Regions from separate parts of the Homo sapiens genome. Here regions 1, 2 and 3 are each linked to region 4. The links are contacts of gene promoters, found by promoter capture Hi-C in human tissues and cell types (Jung and others, 2019). All regions are on one chromosome and are shown on one strand. The core of a region is centred on a gene start or on the middle of the fragment in contact, and the rest is flanking DNA. Distances in the headings are between cores, read along the strand shown. Region 1 has its middle 57 kb from the start of OTOP1. Region 2 has its middle 11 kb from the start of TMEM128. Region 3 overlaps LYAR (Ly1 antibody reactive). Region 4 holds the start of OTOP1 (otopetrin 1).

The links. Contacts are between HindIII fragments. The study calls those that stand out against the background at their distance.
Region 1: a fragment that was not itself captured here is called in contact with the fragment with the promoter of OTOP1 in region 4 in 3 of the 25 tissues and cell types used here (bladder, mesenchymal stem cells and thymus).
Region 2: a contact is called between a fragment that was not itself captured here and the fragment with the promoter of OTOP1 in region 4, in 1 of the 25 tissues and cell types used here (thymus).
Region 3: a fragment that was not itself captured here is called in contact with the fragment with the promoter of OTOP1 in region 4 in 8 of the 25 tissues and cell types used here (H1 embryonic stem cells, aorta, dorsolateral prefrontal cortex and 5 more).

The regions. Positions count from the first base shown.
Region 1 is chr4:4,166,942-4,172,398 of GRCh38, forward strand. No RefSeq gene overlaps it. Among named protein-coding and RNA genes, the nearest start is that of OTOP1, 57 kb to the right of the region's middle. The HindIII fragment of the contact is 7,512 bases long and covers 1-5,457 here.
Region 2 is chr4:4,255,984-4,261,860 of GRCh38, forward strand. No RefSeq gene overlaps it. Among named protein-coding and RNA genes, the nearest start is that of TMEM128, 11 kb to the left of the region's middle. RefSeq lists enhancers at 1,057-1,557, 3,539-3,833. The HindIII fragment of the contact is 3,451 bases long and covers 2,125-5,575 here.
Region 3 is chr4:4,281,530-4,287,030 of GRCh38, forward strand. It overlaps LYAR (Ly1 antibody reactive), which reads right to left. Exons shown (of 10, transcript NM_017816.3): 2 at 4,990-5,043; 3 at 2,092-2,266; 4 at 254-368. The coding sequence starts at 2,213. Among named protein-coding and RNA genes, the nearest start is that of LYAR, 5.9 kb to the right of the region's middle. The HindIII fragment of the contact is 5,768 bases long and covers 310-5,501 here.
Region 4 is chr4:4,223,906-4,229,154 of GRCh38, forward strand. OTOP1 (otopetrin 1) reads right to left here and starts at 3,024. Exons shown (of 6, transcript NM_177998.3): 1 at 2,557-3,024. The coding sequence starts at 2,959. RefSeq lists enhancers at 2,154-2,774, 3,396-4,016. The HindIII fragment of the contact is 12,453 bases long and covers 2,187-5,249 here.

The sequences.
Region 1 (5,457 bases), core at 1,079-3,578, 58 kb before region 4:
GGTGCGCCCAAGAACTAGTACATACTTGTTACCTCCACACTTTGGCATCTCTGTGAAGTCCACCTGGAAACCTTCAAAGGGGGCTGCTCCGTAAGCTCGTATGCCGGGCGGAACGGCTGGACCTTGCCTCCCATCATGCTGTCGGCAGGTAACACACCGCTGCCTCACCGTTTTGGCAAGGGCTGACAAAGGTGAGATGTAGAAATACCGGCCTAACAACTTTTCCAGTGACTCCTGACCCCGATGGGTGGTTTCTTGCACAGCCAGTACAACTGCAGCTCCTAGCAGCTCTGGCGCAGCTACTCTCCCATCTGGTAACCGAATCCATCCTTCCTCCATCAGTTGTCCTTCCCTCTACCTGGAGAAAGTCCTTTTCTTCTTTAGAAGAAGTAGGTCCAAGATCAGGTGCTTGAGGGAGCACTGATGCCCCGAAGGGGGCAGATGCTGCTTTTCGAGCCTCTGAGTCAGCGCGGGAATTCCCCAAGCCCACCAAGGTGGAAGCTTGCTGGTGTCCCCTGCAATGCATAACTGCCACCTTGCGGGGTTTCCATACTGCTTCTAATCATTGCAAAATTTCTTGTTGATATTTTCTGTCTTTTCTGCCAGAGTTCAATAGGCTCTGTTCTTTCTATCATGCTCCATGCACTTGAAGGGTTCAAAAGACATACCGAGAATCAGTGTAAATGTTGACAGTCTCACCCTCACTGAGTTCTAAGGCCCGAATGAAAGCAATGAGTTCAGCTTTCTGGGCTGACGTGGCCTGGGGCAATGATCTGTCTTCATCAACAGTGTCCAGGGTTATCACTGCATACCCTGCACCTCTCTCTCCTTGGGGGTTGAAGAAGCTACTCCCATCCACGTATAGTTCCCAGTCTACTGATTCCTAAGGCTGGCCCCGGAGGTCAAGTCTGCTAGAGTCAACTGTGTCCAACACTTCTACACAACCAGGCTCGACAGGGCTCTCTGATACCGGGAGCAAGGTGGTGGGGTGTAGGCTGTTACAAACTTCAATGGTTATACGGGGATTTTCACAGAGCCAAGCATGGTACTGGGTGAGTGTGGCATTCATTAGCCAATGATGTCCTTTAGTATTCATTAAAGTCACCACAGCACAGGAGGCCTTCATTTTCAGGTTTTGCCCAAGAGTCAGCTTATTTGCTTCTTGTACTCGCAGGGCGGTTGCTGCCAAGGCCCTCCAACAGGGGGACCATCCTTTAGTAACCCCGTTTAGTTGTTGAGAGAGGTAGACCACCGGCCTCGGCCAGGGCCCCACAGTTTGTGTTCAAAGTCCAGCAGCCATCTTTTCTCTCTCTGATGCACACAATGGAGAAGGCTTTGTCAGATCGGGTAGCCCCAGGGCTGGGGCTGCCAGAAGTTTTTCCTTTAACTCATGAAAGCCTTGCTGTTGTTGGGATCCGCATTCCAAAGGTTCCCAGTCCCCGCCCCCTTGGTGACCTCATACAAAGTCTTGGCTAATACTGCAAAGTTTGGGATCCACAGTTTACAAAACCCCACAGCTCCTAAGAATTCTCTCACCTGCCTTCTGCTCTTAGGCTCCGCTAGATTGCAAATGACCTGCTTTCATTCTGATCCCGGGCTGCGTTCCCACCCCTATCGGATAGCAAATCCCAAGTAATGTACATGTTGTCGGCAGATCTGAGCTTTCTTCTTGGACACTTGATACCCACACTCCTCCAGGTGCCGGTGTAGGGCATCTGTTCCCTTGGCACACCCGACTGCCGTGGGGTGTCCCAGCAGAAGGTCATCAACCTACTGGAGCAACACGCAGCCTAGGTCTCTGCTGGGAAACCTCTGGAGGTCTCGAGCCCACGCCTCCCCGAAGATGGTGGGGGAGTTCTTGAACCCTTGGGGAAAGTTGGTCCAAGTGTACTGAGTAGTGACACCTGACTCCGGATCTTCCCACTGAAAGGCAAACAGCTTCTGCCTCTCTGGGGCTAATCTGATAGGAAAGAAAGGGTCTTTCGGGTCCAAGCAGGTGAACCCGCTGTCCTCAGCTGGCAGCAACCCCAACAATGTGGACGGGTTAGGTACTGTTGGATGTAAAGTCAGTGTAGCTTGATGAAGCAAGCGCAAATCCTGTACCGGCAGGTAGTCCTTGGTCGGTGGCTTGGTAACAGGCAGGAGGGGAGTGTTGCATGGAGACTGACAAGGAACAATAATTCCAAAAGTTCTTAGGTGCTTGAGACGGACCTGGATACCTTGAAGGGCTTCTCTGGGGATCGGGTCCTGTTTTTGCCTCACCGGCTGGGCCCCAGTCTTAACCGGCCAATCCTGGAGGGTTGTCTTCTGCCCGTACTCTTGGCCACCGCTTAGCCAGAGCTGGTCTTCTCTCTTGGCCCGGCTCAGTTAAGAAAAGTCTCCATTCCTCCTCTCGGGGGACCTTAAGCATCATAATGACTCCCGTTCCGGGTAACTTGAGCAGCAAAGAGCCGTGCTCTGTCAAAGAGATAGTGGCTCTCAGCTTGCTGAGCAAGTCCCTTCCCAAAAAGGTCGAGGGACAGTCACGCATGTACCAAAACTGTTGAATGACTCTGTGTCTTCCTACAGTACAAGTCCGGGACAAGCAGAAAGCTTGCTTTCCTGAAACCCCCGTGACTCCGATGATGTCAATAGTCTTTCTGCAAAAGGGGGTGACCGTGGCGGTTACTAGCGAATGTTCAGCACCGCTATCTACAAGAAAATCAATGTCTTTACCCCCGACTGTCATTCTGACCAGAGACTCTTTGGGGACAGTTGAGCCCGGTCTCCCTCAGTCCAATAACCCTTCTGCCAGGTTGAGCCGGGCCCCTTCCTTCTTTCTGGGGCCTCCTGCTCGGAGTCACCTTGTTTTCTTTTGAGCTCAGGGCATTTGTTCTTCCACTGTCCTATTTCTTTACAATGAGCACACTGGTTACGCTGCAAACTCTGACAGCCAAGCTGAGTTTCTTTCCCAGGACCCCCCTTCCCTTGCCTCTTTGGGGGGGCCCCTCTGATTGCTGCAGCTGACAAACAGGTCATCGTGTCGCCGGGCCTGACTTCCATTCTCTTTGCTGTTTTCCTTAGGGCTTACTGCATCCCTGTTTACAAACACCTGGCTAGCTATTTCTAGTAATTAGCTAGCAGTAACAGCTAATTCTAGCCTGTTTCTGCAGTTTTCTTCTCATGTCTTCTGCGCTTTGACGGACTAAAGCCATGTGAATCATACGCTGATTTTCAGGGCTATCGGGATCAAAGGGAGTATACATACGATAGGCCTCACACAGTCTCTCGTAGAATTGTGCTGGACTTTCCTCTTTTCCCTGAATGACCTCAGAGACCTTGTTAACGTTTGTGGCCTTCTGAGCTCCCCTCATTAATATTTCCAAGAGAGCTTCCTTGTCTCAGTTTAGCCTTTGAATCTCCTCTCTTTCATGTGGGTCCAAATGGGGTCGGTTCCTGACACCTGGGTCCTTCCATACTCTTGGGGGTTTTGATAATCAGCTGGTGCATGTTCTTCTAGCCACTTAGTTACTGCTTGGAGGACTCTCCGCCTTTCTTCGCTGTTAAAGAGGAACATGAGCAACTGGTGCCAATCAGCCAAGGTGGGGTTGTGGGTCTGGATAACAGCTTGGAGAAAATCAATTAGGGCTTGTGGCTTTTCGGTATAGTTCTGTGTATTGTTTTTCCAGTTGAGAAGGTTGACGCAGGTGATGGGCTGGTAGCCAAAAGCACGCCTCTCCACCAAGTGACCATCCTTATCTATCCCAGTATACCGCTGCTCTCTCAGGGGCATTTGTGTCCCCGTTTTGGGTCGTAAACGAGCTGCGGAGGGAGGGTGGAATGGTGCAACGTGACTTACCACAATTAATAATCTCAATTATTAATTGACACTAATTATCAATATTAATAACTGATAATATAATTTTTAAAATCAATACCGATAATAAGGATAATTAATATTAGTTATACTAATGATAACAGTAAATGATTAATATTAATGATTAATGATGCCTGATATTAATAACTGATATTGATCTTATTCATTAGAAATATTAGCTACAAATAATTAATATTAATATTAATAATCTGAAAATATTATATTAGCAATTATTTCTTAATATTAATATTAATACCTGTCATTCATATTCATGATAATAATAAATGAGGAATAATTCATACTAATATTACGCCTAATAACTCAGTGGGTGTACACCCACCTGTGTTATTGCTTCTAATGTCCAGGGAGGGAGAGAGCATGATATTACGTTCAATATCGCAGTAGGTGTACACCCAGCCGGTGATATTGATCAGAATATAATCTCCAGGGGGTGGAGTATGACGTTACTCCCAATATAGCACTGGGTCTGCATCTACCCCGTGATATTGCTCCTAATATTCACGGAAGAAGCATCTGATATTACTCCCAATATCGCAGGAAGTGTACATCCCCATGTGAGATGGTCCTTCAAAATATTCCAAGGCGTAGGGGGTCATATGACTACATATGTGGCACAAAGTGGACACCCCCCAGGGATATTGTTCCCATGATCCTGGAGGGAAGAGGATAATATTACTTTCAATATCACAGAAGGTGGACACGCCCCGACTGATATTGTTTCTAATTGCAACGTGGGAGAGGAGGATATGACACGCGATATCCCAGGGAGTAGAAACACCCCTGTGATACAGTTCTTAATATTCAGGGAGGAAGAGGAAGATACTACATTCAATACAGACGGGTGTACACCCTCTGTACACCGAGGGTGTACACCCATCTGTGAAACAGTTCATAATCTCCAGAGCGGGAGATGATATTACTCACAATAAGGTAAATAGGCTGTGAGTCCACCGCGGATCCTAAAATCCAGGGGGGCAAGAGGGGCTGGCTCTTACTCCTTGCATCGCGGGGGGTACCTCACCCCCCTGCGATTTGCATCGTCATATCCAGGGGGCGAGAGGGGGGTGATATTTCTCCCCGATTTTTCCTAGAATCCTGTTTATACTGCCACCCTCGGTTGACACCCTGGGACACTATCTTCCATATTCTAGCAAGATGCAGCTGCTAAAGTCGCAGGGGGTATACACCCTTCAATATTATTCGTAATTTTGTAGGGGAATGTTCAACCTGATGTCACAGGACTGTGTACACTGTGATATTATTCCCAATATTCTAGCTTTAGCTTCATAATAATGTCACTTTGTATGTCCATCTGGTGCTGGTATTCTTATTCTCCTAAGTGGAGGTTGCCTTTATTGTCACATGGGGTATGTTCCTTTTGATATTATTCATAATGTCCTAGATGGATGTCACCCCTTATGTCACAGGGGGTGTACATCTTGTCAAATTACTCGTATTATCCTCATAAAATGTCACTCCTCATATCACAGAGGGTGTACACTCTGTGATATTGTCGTCATATTCTAGGGAAATGTTACTGCTAATGTCACAGGGAGTGTAGACCCTGTCCTAAAATTCCT
Region 2 (5,877 bases), core at 2,600-5,099, 33 kb after region 4:
GAAGGGGTGAGGCTGGTGGCCATGCCAGGAGAAAGAGGGCAGGAAGCAGTGGAAGAAAGGATGACTGTGGTGCAAACTGGCCATCATTTACCATGCCCCTCACGTGTTAACTACGCCATCCTCACAGCAGCTGGATGAGGCAGTTACTGTTATAATTCCTATTTCATACATGAGAAAATGGAGGCACCAGCCTTTTTTGTTATGAGATTCAAAGGAGCTTCTTTCAAGTATTCCTTTGCTATGAATGATTAAACTCTCCGTTTGGTAGTTTAATTACAATTACTGAGAAAATACCTACTTTGTCGGAGTTCAAAAGTCAGCCATCCCTCAGGTCTTTGCTCCGTAGGCTCAAAGCTAGGAAAGTGGGGGAGCTAGGATACTAACCCAAGCTTTCGGCTGCCAGGCTAAACTGCGTCTCATGACTCAAAGCACCTCAGGACATAAGCTATTTGTCAGTGTCAGAAGCCGGGTGTGGTGGCTCACACCTGTTATCATGGCACTTTGGGAGGCCGAGGTGGGCAGATCACCTGAGGTCAGGAGTTTGAGACCAGCCTGGCCAACATGGTGAAACCCCATCTCTACTAAAAATACAAAAATTAGCCAGGTGTGCTGGTGCACACCTGTAGTCCCAGCTACTCTGGAGGCTGAGGCAGGAGAATCGCTTGAACCTGGGAAGCGGAGGTTGCAGTGAGCCGAGATCGTACCACTGCACTCCAGCCTGGGCAACAGAGCTAGACTCCACCTCACAGAAAAGAAAGAAAGTCAGTGTCAGCTTCCAACCCAAGCTGGGGTCCGAGGGGAGTAGGTGGACCGGTGGCGGGTAGCTGAAAGAACACTCGAGGGATCTTATACAGGTGGGATATGGCTTTATTCTCTGTGTCAGCCTTTGTCTTGGCTGCCTGCTCAGCAGCCCCACTCAGTGCCAGCTCCACAGTCTGCAGCTGCACTCCCCAGTGTGCTCACCATTTCCTGGCTCCACCCACCCACCCCCACCTGCAAGGCAGCCAACTCCATTATGCATGCCTTCTCACAGTGTTCGTGATACATTTGTGCGCTTCACAGACAATAGCGGCTCAGAGCCAGGGGATGAGCCCACCCATAACATGGTTACATAACTGATTATATGCTGCACGGGATTGTGCACCTGCACTCCAATCCCACTGCGTCATGCTGCACCGGATATTTACCTCGGCCCACTCTTGATGGCAGCGCAGCCATTTCCTTTTCCCTTCCCTGGGGCCATTCTTGCTGAATGCTGGCTCCATGGTGCTGGCCATCTCCATAGATGAGAAGCCAGGAGGGAAGATGTGGCAACCTGGGTGCCCCTTTCCACCCAGACCCGTGGCAGATGTTGCTGATCAAATGCAGCATTTATTTCCCTTTGACAGCCAGGTGGAAGCCTCAAAATCCTGAAGAGCACCGGAAAATCACTGCCAGTTGACTAGAGTTAGTTGTAGTGTCAGATAGAATCTATTTGCCATCCCTTGCTTGAGGGCTTAGGACATGCCCAATAATAGTACAGAAATTCAATAAGGTATTCGCCAACTGAGGGTCACTTTTATGCCAGTAAGAATCTGCATGTCATCCCCTTGAGAGACTCCACACCTCCTCATCAAGAAGTAGTGAAAATGACATCCGGGTGTGATTTCTCACAAAAGAGAAAGGAACGAAAGAAATTTTTTTTAATGTAAAAAGGAAAATCATACCATTTGACCCAGCAATCCCATTACTGGGTATATACTCAGGAATATAAATCATTGTATTATAAAGATACATGCACACATATGTTCATTGCAGCATTATTCAAAATAGCAAAGACTTGGAACCAACCCAAATGCCCATCAATGATAGACTGGAAAAAGAAAATGTGGTACATATACACCATGGAATACTATGCAGCCATCAAAAGGAACAAGAGAATATCCTCTGCAGGGACATGGATGAAGCTGAAAGCCATTATCCTCAGCAAACTAATGCAGAAACAGAAAACCAAACACCACATGTTCTCACTTACAAGTGGAAGCCGAACAATGAGAACACACGGACACAGAGAGGGGAACAACACACACTGGGGCCTACTGGAGGGCAGCGGTGGGGTTGGGGAGAACATTAGGGAAAGGAGCTAATGCATGCTGGGCTTCATACTTAGGTGATGGGATGATCTGTGCAGCAAACCACATGGCACATGTTTACCTATGCAACAAACGTACACATCCTGCACATGTACCCCAGAACGTATAAAAATAATTAAAAAAAAGAAAATCACAAACGTCAATGTGCAAACACATGTTTGAACACAGCGTATGAGGAAATCCCTCTGCCAACCTTAGAAAAATCAAAGTGTTGCCAGGAGCAGTGGCTCACGCCTGTAATCCCAGCACTTTGGGAGGCCAAGGCAGGTGGATCACCTGAGGTCAGGAGTTCGAGACCAGCCTGAACAACATGGAGAACCCCATCTCTACTAAAAATACAAAATTAGCCGGGCATGGTGGTGCATGCCGGTAATCCCAGCTACTCAGGAGCCTGAGGCAGAAGAACTGCTTGAACCCGGGAGGCAGGGGTTGTGGCTAGCCGAGACCGCGCCATTGCACTCCAGCCTCGGCAACAAGAGCAAAACTCTTTCTCAAAAAAAAAAGAAAGAAAGAAAGAAAGAAAGAAAGAAAAGAATAGACAAAGGAGAGAAACTGTCAGCCTTTCAAGACTGGCAACCGTGAGCAGAATGCCCAGCTGTGAGGGAAAGGACAACCATATTAGAATCCCAGCCTGGGTGCTGTGATGCGGCAAGAAGCAGACCTGACATTCAGGAACCGACACAGCACCTGGCACAAAGAGCCCCCAAGATACAGTAGCTAGGCCGGGCGCGGTGGCTCACGCCTGTAATCCCAGCAATTTGGGAGGCCGACGCGGGCAGATCACCTGAGGTCAGGAGTTCAAGACCAGCCTGGCCAACATGGCAAAACCCCGTCTCTACAAAACATACAAAAATTAGCCGGGCGTGGTGATGTGCCCTTGTAGTCCCAGCTACTCGGGAGTCTGAGTTACAAGAATCACTTGAACCTGGGAGGCAGAGGTTGCAGTGAGCTGATATCATGCCACTGTACTCCAGCCTGGGTGACAGTGAGACTCTGTCTCAAAAAAAAAAAAAAAAAAAAAAAAAAAAAAGATACAGTAGCTGCCATCATTACAATTGTCTTGAAGTTACTGCCTATCCCTATAGACCCACAACTCTCAAACTCATTCACACAGTAGAGTGCCAGGCACACTTTTGTAGAACATCATGAAATCTGGATAAATTAAGCAAAAAATAGCCAAGTGCTATAAATGTTTATGCCAGCTCTCCTAGCATCTAAATTAGAATCTCATGGCCACAGATGCCAAAAGGCTTAAGAGGTGTTACGCAGGGACACTAAAACTGAGAAATTCTATGACCTTAACTTTTTTCTGAAACCTGCAAGAGAGACTACCGTTTCAAGTTCAGCTGTATAATACCTCCCTGTTCAGTATAAAATCAGTCTGAGCGGGGCTATCCTATGACATTACTACTATAGTATCCTGATTCAAATTTGCTGCCAAATCCCCAAAGCCATGCTGTTAGCAACTGCTCAGTGGAACCGAATCTTTCCCTACCTTTGATCTACAATGGACAGAAGTCGGCCTGAGGTCACCGGGAAGGGAGGAGGGCAGCAAAGGTGGTATTTCAACAGCTCACAATACCCGCTCTGTGGCCAAACAAAGGCCTGACCTCCTGAGCGATGTGTGACCTTTAAACTCTGACAAACATATGTATTTACTCAGCAATTACAATTTAAACTACCCAAGGGGCAGTTTAATCACTTGTATCAGAGGGAATAAATTAAAGCTTCCCTAGATCCCATAACAGCAACAAGAAATGAAAGTAGCATTTGCACTCAAAAGAAAACAAAGAAACTTCTCTTTTCACCAGTACATACCATTTTTCTTTTTCTCAGAAATCGTCTGTGTTGTAATCGAGACAGACAGTGAGAAGCAGGGTCCAACCCCAAATTACAGAAGCTGTTAAATCTAATGATAAGTGAGCCGAGAGCAAGATCTCAAGTTTCTTAAATATGAAAAGGACAGGGGAAGGCAGATGCTATTCTTTAAGCTGGAAGAAATTACTGTTCCGTTTTATTTTTAACATCATCCAAGACTGAAATCCGCTGGGAAAATGGAGTCACCATTTTCCACAGTTTTATCATCCAGTGGTACCCGGTGACTTTGGTTGACAGCATCCAATAAGAGAGCTATTTTGAAAAGATAAACACAGAGATGGAAATGGGAGTAATACTAAATTTCGGTGCATTTTTTGGCAAAATAAATGCATATACCCTCAAATACTGAGGGTGGCAGTATAAACTGCTAAAAAGCCCTCTCAAAACTGGCTACATCTGTTAAAGCTGAAATATACCCTATGACTTAGTACTGCCACCTGTGGGCATATACTCAGTAGCAATGAGAAAGTGTATGTACACACTAGGAGATGAGGAGAAGATGTCATCGATTTCATGAGAAACCTAGCCACCCTGAAACAGCTGAACATTTTATTGATTGATTGATTGATTGATTGAGACAGAGTCTTGCTCTGTTGCCCAGGCTGGAGTACAGTGGCGTAATCTCTGCTCACTGCAACCTCTGCCTCCCTGATTCAAGCGATTCTCCAGCCTCAGCCTCCCAAGTAGCTGGGATTACAGGTGCGTGCCACCACACCCAGCTAATTTTTGTAATTTTAGTAGAGATGGGGTTTCATTATGTTGGCCAGGCTGGTCTTGAATTCCTGACCTCAAGTGATCCACCCGCCTCGGCCTCCCAGAGTGCTGGGATTACAGGCGTGAGCCACCGAGCCCTGCCTTTATTTTTATTTTTTGAGACAGGGTCTCACTCTCTCATTTAGGCTGGAATGCAGTGACATGATTAATGCTCACTGCAACCTCCAACTCCTGGGCTGAAACAATCCTCCCGCCTCAGCCTCTGGAGTTGCTGGGACTACAGGTGCTTATAGGCATGTGCCACCACACCTGGCTAATTTTTTTATTTTTTATTTTTTGTAGAGATGGGGTCTCGCTATGTTGCCCAGATTGCTTTTGAACTCCCGGGCTCAAGTGATTCTCCCGCCTCTGCCTCCCATAGCACTGGGATTACAGGCATGGGCCACCACACCAGTCTGTAAAATCCAACATTTCATCAAGAGATGAATCTCATGGAATGTTGGGTGAAAGAAGCAAGACACAAACAGATACATGCTGTGTGGTTTCATTTACATCAAGTTCAAAACCAGGCAAAACCAACCCATGCAGACAGAAGTAAGGTGGGCCGAATAGTCTGTTTCTTGATTTAGGTGTGGGCACTCTGTGAAACTCATGAAGCAGTACATTTACATTTTACATATGTATACTTCAATAGAAACCTGCATTAAAATATTAACTCATATAGGTTTGGCAGTCGTAGGATTGTGTCTTTGTTCAGAAAAATAGTTACACAGTAACTGTAAACTAGAGTGCTACTTCAAAAATTGAAGTGGATTTCTTCATTTAAATGCTGTATGGTTTGGCCTCGCTGATTCTTCTTTGCTGCAGTCCAGTCACTTAGAGAGCTTTGTGCATGAAAAAGTAAGGCGTCAGATCCTGTCTGTTGGGCCAGTGCCTCGGACAACCAATGGTAGACACTGCTCGGTCTGTGTACTTCCTGTACTTTAAGAGGAGATATTTTCAGACACCTACTATGTGCTACTTTGTGTACAGTATATCAATTTCACTCTATCTACCATAGAAAGTTGGTGTAAGAGAAAAACCCCTGAGGTTTAGAGATGCTAAGTAACCTGCCCACGCAGGGACCTTTGGCGAGTGAGATACAAAGCTCAGA
Region 3 (5,501 bases), core at 1,944-4,443, 58 kb after region 4:
AGGCAGGTCTTGAACTCCTGACCTCGTGACTCGCCTGCCTTGGCCTCCCAAAGTGCTGGGATTACAGGCGTGAGCCACCATGCCCAGCCAAAGAATTCTTTTTCAAGAGGTTTTAGTTCAACCTGTCTATCCTAGGACATGAGGTTTCCAGAGCTTGTCTGCAGGGATGACACATTTACTCTTAGTCTCTTGGGCTTCCAAAGAAAGCGGAAGCTGTCAGAGGAAGCTACTCAATGAGTTAGAGAGACGTTACCTGAATCCACGCCTGCTGTTTGATGTCGCCTTTGTGGGTTTTACCTTCATAGCCTTTGCCACCATACTTCTGATCTTCACTTATGCATTTCACGTGGTTTTTATAGTCATCGCCCCTTTAAAGTGATCAAAAGTTCTGCCATTAGACTGATACCCAAGTTGGAGGCGCTAATACCAGCATGCTGCCACTATCTTCTGTGGTCTACACTGTATATTTTCACATGTGTCTATCACACAAGCACCCCATCTATTTCACTTATTATGTTTACAGCCTCCTGGTCAGAACCACATCCCCCTTCCTCCAAAGTCGTCAATATAAAACCCATCACCAAACTTTTCCCCCATTTTTATAAACACCTTAAGCTAAATTGATAGGCAGTATTTTTTTAAGTCATAAGTGTACATATACTGAATAAACAAGAAAATAGTTCTATGCAATAGGGTAGTTTTTTTAAATTATAAAAATCTCAATGTCTAATAGACAGTCAATAATTAGTTGTAGAATAAATCAAAAACAGATATAAAATGGCAGCATGAGGTTACCAACAGTTCTGGATCCCTTAGGGTCCTGAGAAAAAAGAAAACTAAATTCTCTCTCATATAATCTTTGTAAAGCTCTATGGGGTTCTTCAGGGAAATGTTGGGGACAAGGTCCAGGGCAAAGTCCCCTAATGAAAACTCAATTTTAACCTACTTTATATATCAAGCTTCCTCCTAGGATTACGTCTGAACAGAGGTTAGCAGTTTCCAAAAAAAATCACTGCTCCAGAATGAATTAAAAGAGAGTATTAGCCAGTACCATCCGAATGCCTCAGAGGACACTGGGGCAGATGCAGCCAGAAGCCAGCTTCTCGCCTGGACCTTCTGAGGCTGAAGGGGAATCAACATGAAATTCAAGAGGGGAGCCCTCTGCAAACGACCCACCTGAAGAACCGGTGTCTAAGGCAGGATCTGTCCTGTCCCTCCCCGCTAACTCCTCACATTCACAGAGGCCTCCTCAGTGGAAGTGTCTCCTGACACACCCGTGGGGCCAGGAAGAGCCTCACTTCCACCAGCACCTCTGATTTTCTAGGGAGGACATAGTTTCCTCTGCTACCAGTCATCTGCCCCACTGTGAGCTCATAAATTCACTTTCTGGTTCATAAGTCCATCTCTCCACTGTGATGGGCATGTGATACCCATGGTCTAATGAAACTGGCTCTAAACCCCTGGAGCCATCTTCCACGCAGTTAGTTCCCTGGGTCTGTAAACAGTGGCAATGCAATAGCAACCAGTGTCACCAACTGACTGAACACTCTAATCATCATAATTCCCCTTCCCCTAGTCTTTTCTTTAACATATCCTCAAAAAGCAAATTGTTTCGTAAAGCACATTTCTCCCCCCCAAGAAGGGGTTAACTTGCTCTGTTGCCCAGGCTGGAGTGCAGTGGTGAAATCTCGGCTCACCGCAACCTCTGCCTCCTGGGTTCAAGCGATTCTCCTGCCTCAGCCTCCCGAGTAGCTGGGATTACAGGCGCCCACCACCACGCCTGACTAATTTTTGTATTTTTAGTAGAGACAGGGTTTCACTATGTTGGCCAGGCTGGTCTTCAACTCCTGACCTCATGAGCCACCCACCTTGGCCTCCCAAAGTGCTGGGATTACAGGCCTGAGCCACTGCGCCCGGCCTAGTAAAGCACATTTGAAAGAATCACACCAGTTTTAATCAATGGAACATACCAGTTTTTAGTCTTAATTTCATTCTTCAAATTTGCCACTATTTTTCCAAGCTTTGTGGCGCCAAGGCTTCCAAAACTGATCTGGATTTACTATGGATCTACATGAATTCTGTGAAGCTTACCAGAAATCTTTACCGCAGTCAATGCAAGAAAGGCATTCACAGTTTCTGCAAACAGACACATGCTTTTCCACTTGTATTTTCTTCACTGATTCACCACATGCATTGCATGTAAAAAATACCATTTTTAGGTAAATGGCTAAATATTCTCTATCCAAGACAGGTTTTAAGTCTTGTCCTAAGGAAAAAAAGACAATTATAATTATAAACTGAAACTTCTCATTTCAATAAATGGCTCATGCCCCTAACTTTTCAACCATAATTTCACATGAAAATAACAGAGTCAAAGTTGATTAGCAATCTACATAAAATTCCACCATTCATATAAGTAAAACTAACATTAACAATGAGAATGGCTAACATTTATTGTGTCCTTACCACGTGCCAGGCACTATTCTAGAGGCTTTACATTTATTCACTTATTCAATCCCCGCAGTAACCCTATGAGGGAAGGACTATTATTGTTCAAAATTTATATGAGGTAACTGAGACACAGAGATTACATAACTTGCCCAAGGATACACGGTTAACAGAACCAGGATTTAAACCTGGCAGATTGGCTCTCAAGATGAAGAGCTTTGAGGGTGTTAAATCTTACTTTCCATAATACCTTAAACTCTCTCTCTGTATATGAAACTTATAGAAGGCATTGCAATTTAGGTGTACACTACAAACTATTTCAGGTCCTCAAATATACTAAGAACACAGCAAGAGGAAAACTGAGTGAAGTTTAGAAAGTGAAGAAGAGGCAATTCTATGGGCACAATTTCTATGGCACTAAAAGCATTCATATCAATATTACTATATATCTACAAAGGTTAAAATGAGGACATGCGCCTCAGCTGTAATGGACAGGGGCCTTCTTCATGTGGCAGCTTGTCAGACAAGTCAGAAAGAAACGGAACCAAGTCCAGGTGTCCCAACTGCTGGGTGCTGAATTACTGGAGTTCACAAACCCAGGTGTCCCGAGCACTGCCCCAAAAAGAAGTATGTCTGCACACGCACATAAACATCATTGTAAAATTTCACAGAAATGCTACCGTGCTCAGGAAAACACAAATTCGTCTAGAAGTGTTAGAGAAGTCACAGTAATTTTCCATACTTACATAATTTTTAATCACTAGATTTTAAAACAGCATTGTTGTTTTACATTATAAGTTTTACAGCAAAAATACTGAGAACTGTTTAACCCAGAGCTTTCTTCCTCATTAGGAAAATAAAGGTGAGGGTCAAGTAAACCGATGCAATTTACTTCAGGGTAGGACTTCATCCAACAAGCTTTCAGTACAAATGATCTACCCTTGGTTTGCAGAGAATTCCCATGCATGAAATCACCGTTGCTCCTCCACCAGCATGTTTTGGATCACTGCCAGTGAGGCCACACCCAAGCAACGACCAAGGTTATTCATGTCCATTCAGCCTTGAATGGAAATGTACATCCTGGCTGCATCTCCAGGGTTCACAAAGGTCCAGCTGGTCTCTTGTGGAGGCCTCTTGCCCTGTGGGACACTATCAGACATCAGCTCAGCTTCTACGCTACATACAAACCACAGACCCCTGATTCCGCGGTCCCAGGCCCCGCTCCTCAGCTCACTATCAGTGTATGTTAGTAAACGGACAGCATGTGGTCAGCTACAACCTAGCACCAAATCCTCAGGAAGGAAAACATGACTACCCTCGATGTGCTGCAGCAACTGTCATCTTCTCATCTGCTTACTGTAAAGATGTGTGATATTGTCAAGCTCCTGGGAGCTGGAATCACGTTTCCCACAACCCAGCTCCCTCAAAGCTTACCATTCTAAAAAAAGGCAGAGGGATGATCAACATGTCAGGCAACAAGAGCAGCTATCCTGCCTGACAAGGGAGAACAAAGGCTGGAATAAGAGCCAACATCACATTCTCAAAGAGCATGGAGGTGCACTTTGGTGTAAGAGCAGGAATAACTTATTAGTCACCAAGAAATAGATTGTCATCACAGGCACAAGGTGAAAGCAGCCGTGATATGCCAAATTATCTGCTGAAAAACGTTAAAGCACTTTTCTAATAAGATACAACAACAAAAAACAGTCTCTGAAACTTAGATACGGCTTAGAGCTTGCCAACCTCTGTTGCTGAGGACAATTCTATTTCTGGATGGAGTGGGAGATGGGAGGAAGAAAGGTTTCGACAAGGCTTAAGAGTGAATTGAGAGATTCCTGTCCCAGCAGGAATTAAAGGCCTAGGAAGGAAGCTGGAAACAAAATATATTGACTGAAAGAAGCAGTGAAAGCAGTGATGTTGACAAAAAGATACTCAAGAGTAACTGTGCCAAACATTCTATCTCTCTGGAGATCGGCTACACACTACAGTGTAATTAAATATCAATTCAGAAGGTGATTAGAATCTGGTTACATGTCCAGCTAAAAAATAACTCTCACATCATTTTCATTTGGTCTTTACTTGTTTAAGGCCAAATGGGTGGATTGCACAGGAAGTCAGAACTGTCTCTTCCTGCCTTCCTCCGGATTTTTACACTTGCCATGAAATGGGAACAGCTCTGTGTCCACTTGCTTGGCTAATGAGCTAATGTCTGTAAGGAGCTTACCTCTCCTTTATTCAGAGCCTGGAGGACAGTCCAGCACCTTGATTACACCTCAAACCCAACCTAGCCCCAGGCGAAAATACCTGTAATTTATGCCATAAACACTTGCTTGGGCTTCAAAGAAAAGCTCAAAACCATCAGAAGCTTCAAAGTCAGCCTAACTGCACAGCAGACAGGGTGTCCCAGGTCTTAGTGCAGGCTTAATATTCGTAAGCGTAAATGCTACAAACTTACAAAAAGCCGTCAGGTGGAAATTCAGTCCCTCTAATGGAAGACAGCAAACATTGCCTAAAACAAAAATGTAAATACTACAAACTTACAAAAAGCCGTCATGTAGAAATTCAGTCACTCCAATGGAAGACAGCAAACATTGCCTAAAACAAAAAAGTAAAACGGTATTGTTCAAATTCCACAAGACTAGATAAGCATGAAGGAAATTTAATTAAACTTTTTTTTTTTTTTTTTGAGAAAGGAGTCTCGCTTTGTCGCCCAGGCTGGAGTGCAGTGGTGCATTCTTGGCTCACTGCAAGCTCCGCCTCCCGGGTTCATGCCATTCTCTTGCCTCAGCCTCCCGAGTAGCTGGGATTACAGGCATCCGCCACCACGCCCAGCTTATTTTTTGTATTTTTTAGTAGAGATAGATGGGGTTTCACCGTGTTAGCCAGGATGGTCTCAATCTCCTGACCTCGTGATCCGCCTGCCTCGGCCTCCCAAAGTGCTGGGATTACAGGCGTGAGCCACCGCGCCCGGCCTTAATTAAATTTTAAATGATGTTTTGGCAAGTTTGGATCATTTATGCTTCTGAAATTATGAAAGCTTAAAACTGCATTAA
Region 4 (5,249 bases), core at 1,774-4,273:
ACAAAAACAGCAGGGGAGAGAGGAAGAGAGGAAGGAAGAGAAAGAGAGGAGAGAGAGAGGGAAGAGGGACAGTGGAGAGAAGGATGGAGGAAGGAAGAGAGGAAGGAAAGATGAAGGAGGAGAAGAGAGAAAGAAAATGAGGAAAAAAATAAGGAAAGGGAGGCCAGGCATGGTGGCTCACACCTGTAATCCCAGCACTTTGGGAGGCTGAGGCAGGCAGATCACGAGGTCAGGAGTTTGAGACCAGTCTGGCCAACATGATGAAACCCCGTCTCTACTAAAGATACAAAAAATAGCTGGGCATAGTTGCAGGCGCCTATAATCCCAGCTACTTGGGAGGCTGAGGCAGGAGAATCGTTTGAACCCGGGAGGTGGAGGTTGCAGTGAGCCGAGATCGCACCATTGCACTCCAGCCTGGGCGACAGGGCAAGACTCCATCTCAAAAAAAAAAAATAAAGAAGGAAAGGCAGAGAGGAGGGAAGGCGAGGGAATAGGGAGGGAGGGAGGAGGAAGAAAGGAAAGGAGAAGGAGGGAAGGAAGAAGGGAGAAAAAAGGATGGAGGAGAGAAAGAAGGAACAAAAAAGGGGCTTTGACTATAGGAAAACACAGGTAAAGGCTCATGTGTATAATACTTTTTAGCCTGTGTAAGTCAATATCCTAAAATAACACTTTGTGCCTTGTTTTAAATAGCACCAGATTCACTGTCATTCACAGAGTCACAAAACCATTAACTTCCCTAAAACAACCATTTTCAGAACAGGAATTTGGGCCACGCTGCAATGGTGTCAAATTTCCCCAAAAGCAAGATGAACTAGATCCAGTCCCTGAGCCTAAGAAGTCTAAAATCTCTTCTGGATGGTAAGGCTAATATCCAACAGTCATAATACAAGGCAGAAACGGACAAGGACCAAAAGAGCTTTACAGAAAGGGGGCCATGGTGGCCCATAGAAGTGAGGAGTAATTCCTGCCAGGCATTTGTGAAGAAGGTGGCATCTGGCCAGGACCTTTGAAAGAAATGTGGAAAGGAGGCCTAGTGTGTGCTGGGCAGCCACCTCATCAGTCACTGGATCTTATCCAGTTTGAGATCCCCATTCTACAGATGCTGAAACCAGGGTTCAGGGTAAGGAAGGCAATCAGGTAACTTGCCCAAGGTCATGCATGCAAGGAACACGGAAGCCCCACTCTAATGGAGATTTAAATTCAGGTCTAATATGAGAGTCCAAGTGGCAATGTGTGATGTGCCTGGACCACGTGGTGTGAAATGCACTTGGCCTCTCCTGGGAAGGTTACTCAGACAGAAGCTTTCTTCACAAGCATGCTCCCCATGGCCTCCTCCCTTTCACCTGCACCATGTCTGTCTCCCATTCAAGACTGGCAGCCCCAGCCAGGCACAGTGGTTCATGCCTGTGATCCCAGCATTTTGGGAGGCCAAGGCAGGAGGATCCCTGGAGGCCAGGAGTTTGAGAAAAGGAGACAACACAACGAGGCCCTATCTGTACAAAATATAACAAAACTTAGCTGGGCAAGGCCATGTGTGTCTATAGTTCCAGCTATTCAGGAGGCTGAAGTGGGAGGATTGCTTGAGCCCAGGAGGAAGAGGCTGTAGTGAGCTGTGATTGTGCCACTGCACTCCAGCCTGGGAGATAGAGCAACATTGTCTCAAAAAAAAAAAAAAAAATGTGGCAGCCCCTTGAGGAAGAAAGAGCTCCTATCTTGACAATTTCAGCCAATGCCTGTGAGTACCAGCAGGAGCCTCTATCCCTCTTTGCCCCACCCTGCATCCACGCATTCATTATTTCATTCATACCCCCTCATTTTCTCAACACCCACTTCGTGCCAGGCCCTGAGGTGGCTCTAGGACCGAGAGACAGGGATCACAGAGCTCCCCAGTGGAGTGGAGGGTACAGACATGTTGACAAGAACACTGGAGCCCAGTGCGGGCTGGGGGCATGTGGTCAGACCTGCAAAGCCGGGAGGAGAAGGGGGTCGGAGAAGCTTCGCGGGGAGAATGGGGTGAGGCCTGAGCCCTGTCTCGGAAAGCAGAGGGGCAGGTGGGAAAGTGGAAAAGACATTCCTGGAGGAGAGAACCGAAGGTGCCGAATGTGCAGAGGCAGAGGTCCTGCGATGGGCGAGAAAGTTCGCGAGAATGACCCCAGCACAGGATGAGAACAAAGGAGGGGATCAAAGGAAACGGGCCCTCGGGGGCCGAGTGCTAGAAGGCTCTGAGTGTCAGGAGAGGGAGCGTGGCCTCCATCATGGGGTCAGTAGGGCCACTGCATGGCTTTAAGTCAGGGAAGGACAAGAGAGGTTTCTGTAACTGTGGCTGTAATGATGGAAGCGTCTGGAGGCGGAGAGGAGGCTCCTGCGGCGACCCAAGCTTCAGAGAGAGAGAGAGGAAAGGAAGGGCAGACAGGAAAGCTAGGAAAGATGCACAGAGAGACCAAGGCAGAAAAGGCTGAAGGGAAGACGGCAGCGGTAGGAAGGGCGCAGAGCAGCCTCAGGATGCAGCCAGCGGGCGAGGAGGCGGAGACCCGCTCGCCCGGCGCCTGGACTCACCGCGCAGCCAGCCGGCACCCGCGTGCGTGTCCTTGAGGCGGAAGAGGCGGCGGTGCGCGGAGCTGCGGCCCACGTACCACAGCATCCACAGCAGCTGCAGCAGCATGAGCGCCGTCAGGAAGCACAGCAGGTCGCTCTTGCTCACGCCCGCGGCGTGCACGGCCCAGGCCAGCAGCAGCAGCAGCCCCGCCACGAACACGATCAGCCCATACTGGCTGCTCAGCATCTCGGCCAGTTTCTGTGGGACGCTGGCGCGCACACCGCCCCGCCGGGGGGCCGGGGATTCCGGGGACCTCGGGGCCGAGGACGAGGGAGGCGAGCAGGCCGCTGGCCCCGACGACCCTGCGACCGAGGCGCTTGCAGCTGCCCGGGGCGAGGCGGGCGACCCCAGGCCCTCGAGCATCTTCGAGACACCCGCGCCAAGTCTGGTCCCGGGGGTGGCTGCCGTCGGGCCCCGCCTGCGCTCCTGGCTCCTGTCCTTGCCCCGACGCCTCTGCCAACCAGCACCTCCCTTTTCAACTCCCTTCCGATTCCTACCCCACGCCCCTGCCAACCTGCCCCCTCTCCTGTCACCTCCCGACGCCCGCCCTCCCCTCTTCTGCCCCTTCGTCCTCCGTCAAGGTACCACCCTGTCCACTTACCCAGCGCCCCACCCTGCTGACCTGGGATTCTACGAGCTCCCTTGCCCGCTGCCCCTCACTGGGCAACGCCCGGGGCAGCCATCTGCCCCCTCCGGGACCCACGCGGACAGCTCCCCGCTCCTGATCCCTGGGACACTGGCCAGCCCTGCCGCGACACTAGCGCGTCCTCCCGCACCTCCGCCCGCGCGCCCGGCCCCCGCCCGCCGTCTGCAGCCCTCACCCCTGAGCCGACGCCCGCCCACCCAGCCCCTGTCCGGGCGCCCCGGAAACGCTGGGTGACAAGAAGTGCCTGCCGGGGTCCCGGGGTTGCGGGACTGGGGAGAGGGGGTCTCCCGGAGCCAGCCCGAGGGGGGTGTGCGCGGGGGGCGTGGCTGCTGCCAAGCGGGGCGTCCGGGGCTCCACAGGGGCTTGCGATGCTCCGGGCCTTCCCCGAGGGTCTCCGTTGGGGAACCCAGAGGTCCAGGGGATCCTGCCTGCGTCCGTGTCCGAGCGTCCGACGGTCTGTACTCGTCCCTGCGTATTTCTGTATTGTCTTCTCTGTGCGGGTCACTCTGTGTCTGGCCGTCTGTTATCGGGTGTGTCTGGTTAGGGGTGGAGGAGCGCCCGTCACTGGCTCTCTGAATTGGGGGAGGGGCCGCCTTCTGTGGGTTTTTCTGTTTGTCCGTCTGGTGTGCCTGTGTGTCGGCTGCGAGATGCCCAGGCGCAGAATAAGACCTGAGCCACTTTCTAAGAAAAGAGACCATCCCGCACCCTCCCCCAAAGGAGCGGCAGCCGTTCTGGACCCAGAGGAGCTGGAATGAGGGACGCCCCGGGGTCTGCCCTGTTGCTACCGGCGCCCAAGCGTCTTCACTAGCCCCTTCCAAAGCCCCGGTGCCCGCCTGGCACCCGCCTGCTCCCGGAAGGGGACTGAGTCTGCCAGGGAGCCCCGCTCGGGTGCCGCTAAGTGGAGGTCTGGGAAGTTTCAGCTGAAGAGCGTTCTACGGGTCTGGCGTGGCTGACAGGAGGCGCCGGACCCCAGCCCCCCAGCCGCAGGTTGGAGAGGGGAGTTGGGAGCGAGCCTGGGGCAAGCCCACATCCCACCGTGCAGCAGCCCGGGGCTGGGCCCGGAAGACACCCTCTCGCTCTTGGTTTAAGGTTCTTGCCGTCTTGAAATTCTTAATTTTTGAACAAGAGGGCCCATGTTTTTGTTTTGCGCTAAGCGCAGCAAATTGCAATAGCAGGTCCTGACTAGTAAAGGAGGGGTGGGGAGTCCTGGGCTAGCAAGGAGTCAACCTGGGGGACCTTACCTTGCCACCATCATTCTTCCAATTCACGCATTCATGCATTTGATCAACACATATGTATGTGTTGACCTATGAATCATTTGCTGCTCTCTGTTCTAGCAGCTGGGTTTTCAGCTATGAAAGGCTCTGCTCAGGTGGAGCTGATGTTCAGGTAGAGAAACAGCAATAAACAAACAGCTAATGAGCCCTCACTGGGAAGCTGGGGATCATGACCTGTGAGACTTAGCCCTCAACTTCTAAGAGCTTGGGAGTGGGGACAGAGTAAGCAGCACAACACCCTTGAGCAGGGCTACAACCAGGGGCCTGGGAGGAGTCCAGGTCTGCAGGAAGGCTGAGAGGTTCAGGGAGGAGGCAACACCTGCACAGTCTTCTTTCTTTCTTTCTTTCTCTTATTTTTATCTTTTAATAAGGACAGGGTCTCCCTGTGTCTCCCAGGCTGGAATGAAGTGGTGTGATTATGGCTCACTACAGCCTCGAATTCTGGGGCTCAAGTGCTCCTCCCGCCTCAGCCTCCCGAATAGCTGGGACTACAGGTGTGTGCTACCACGCCTGGCTCATTTTTTTTAAATTGTTTTTTTGTAGAGACGGGTCTCACTATGTTGCTCAGGTTGATCTCAAACTCCTGGGCTCAAGCCATCCTCCTACCTCAGCCTCCCAAAGCACTGGGATCACAGGCTCCAGCTACCACGTCCAGCCTCCTGCACATTCTTTAGGCTTAGGAGTGGATGGTCAGGCGGAAGGGAGCAGGGGTCTGGAAAGGCAATCCAGA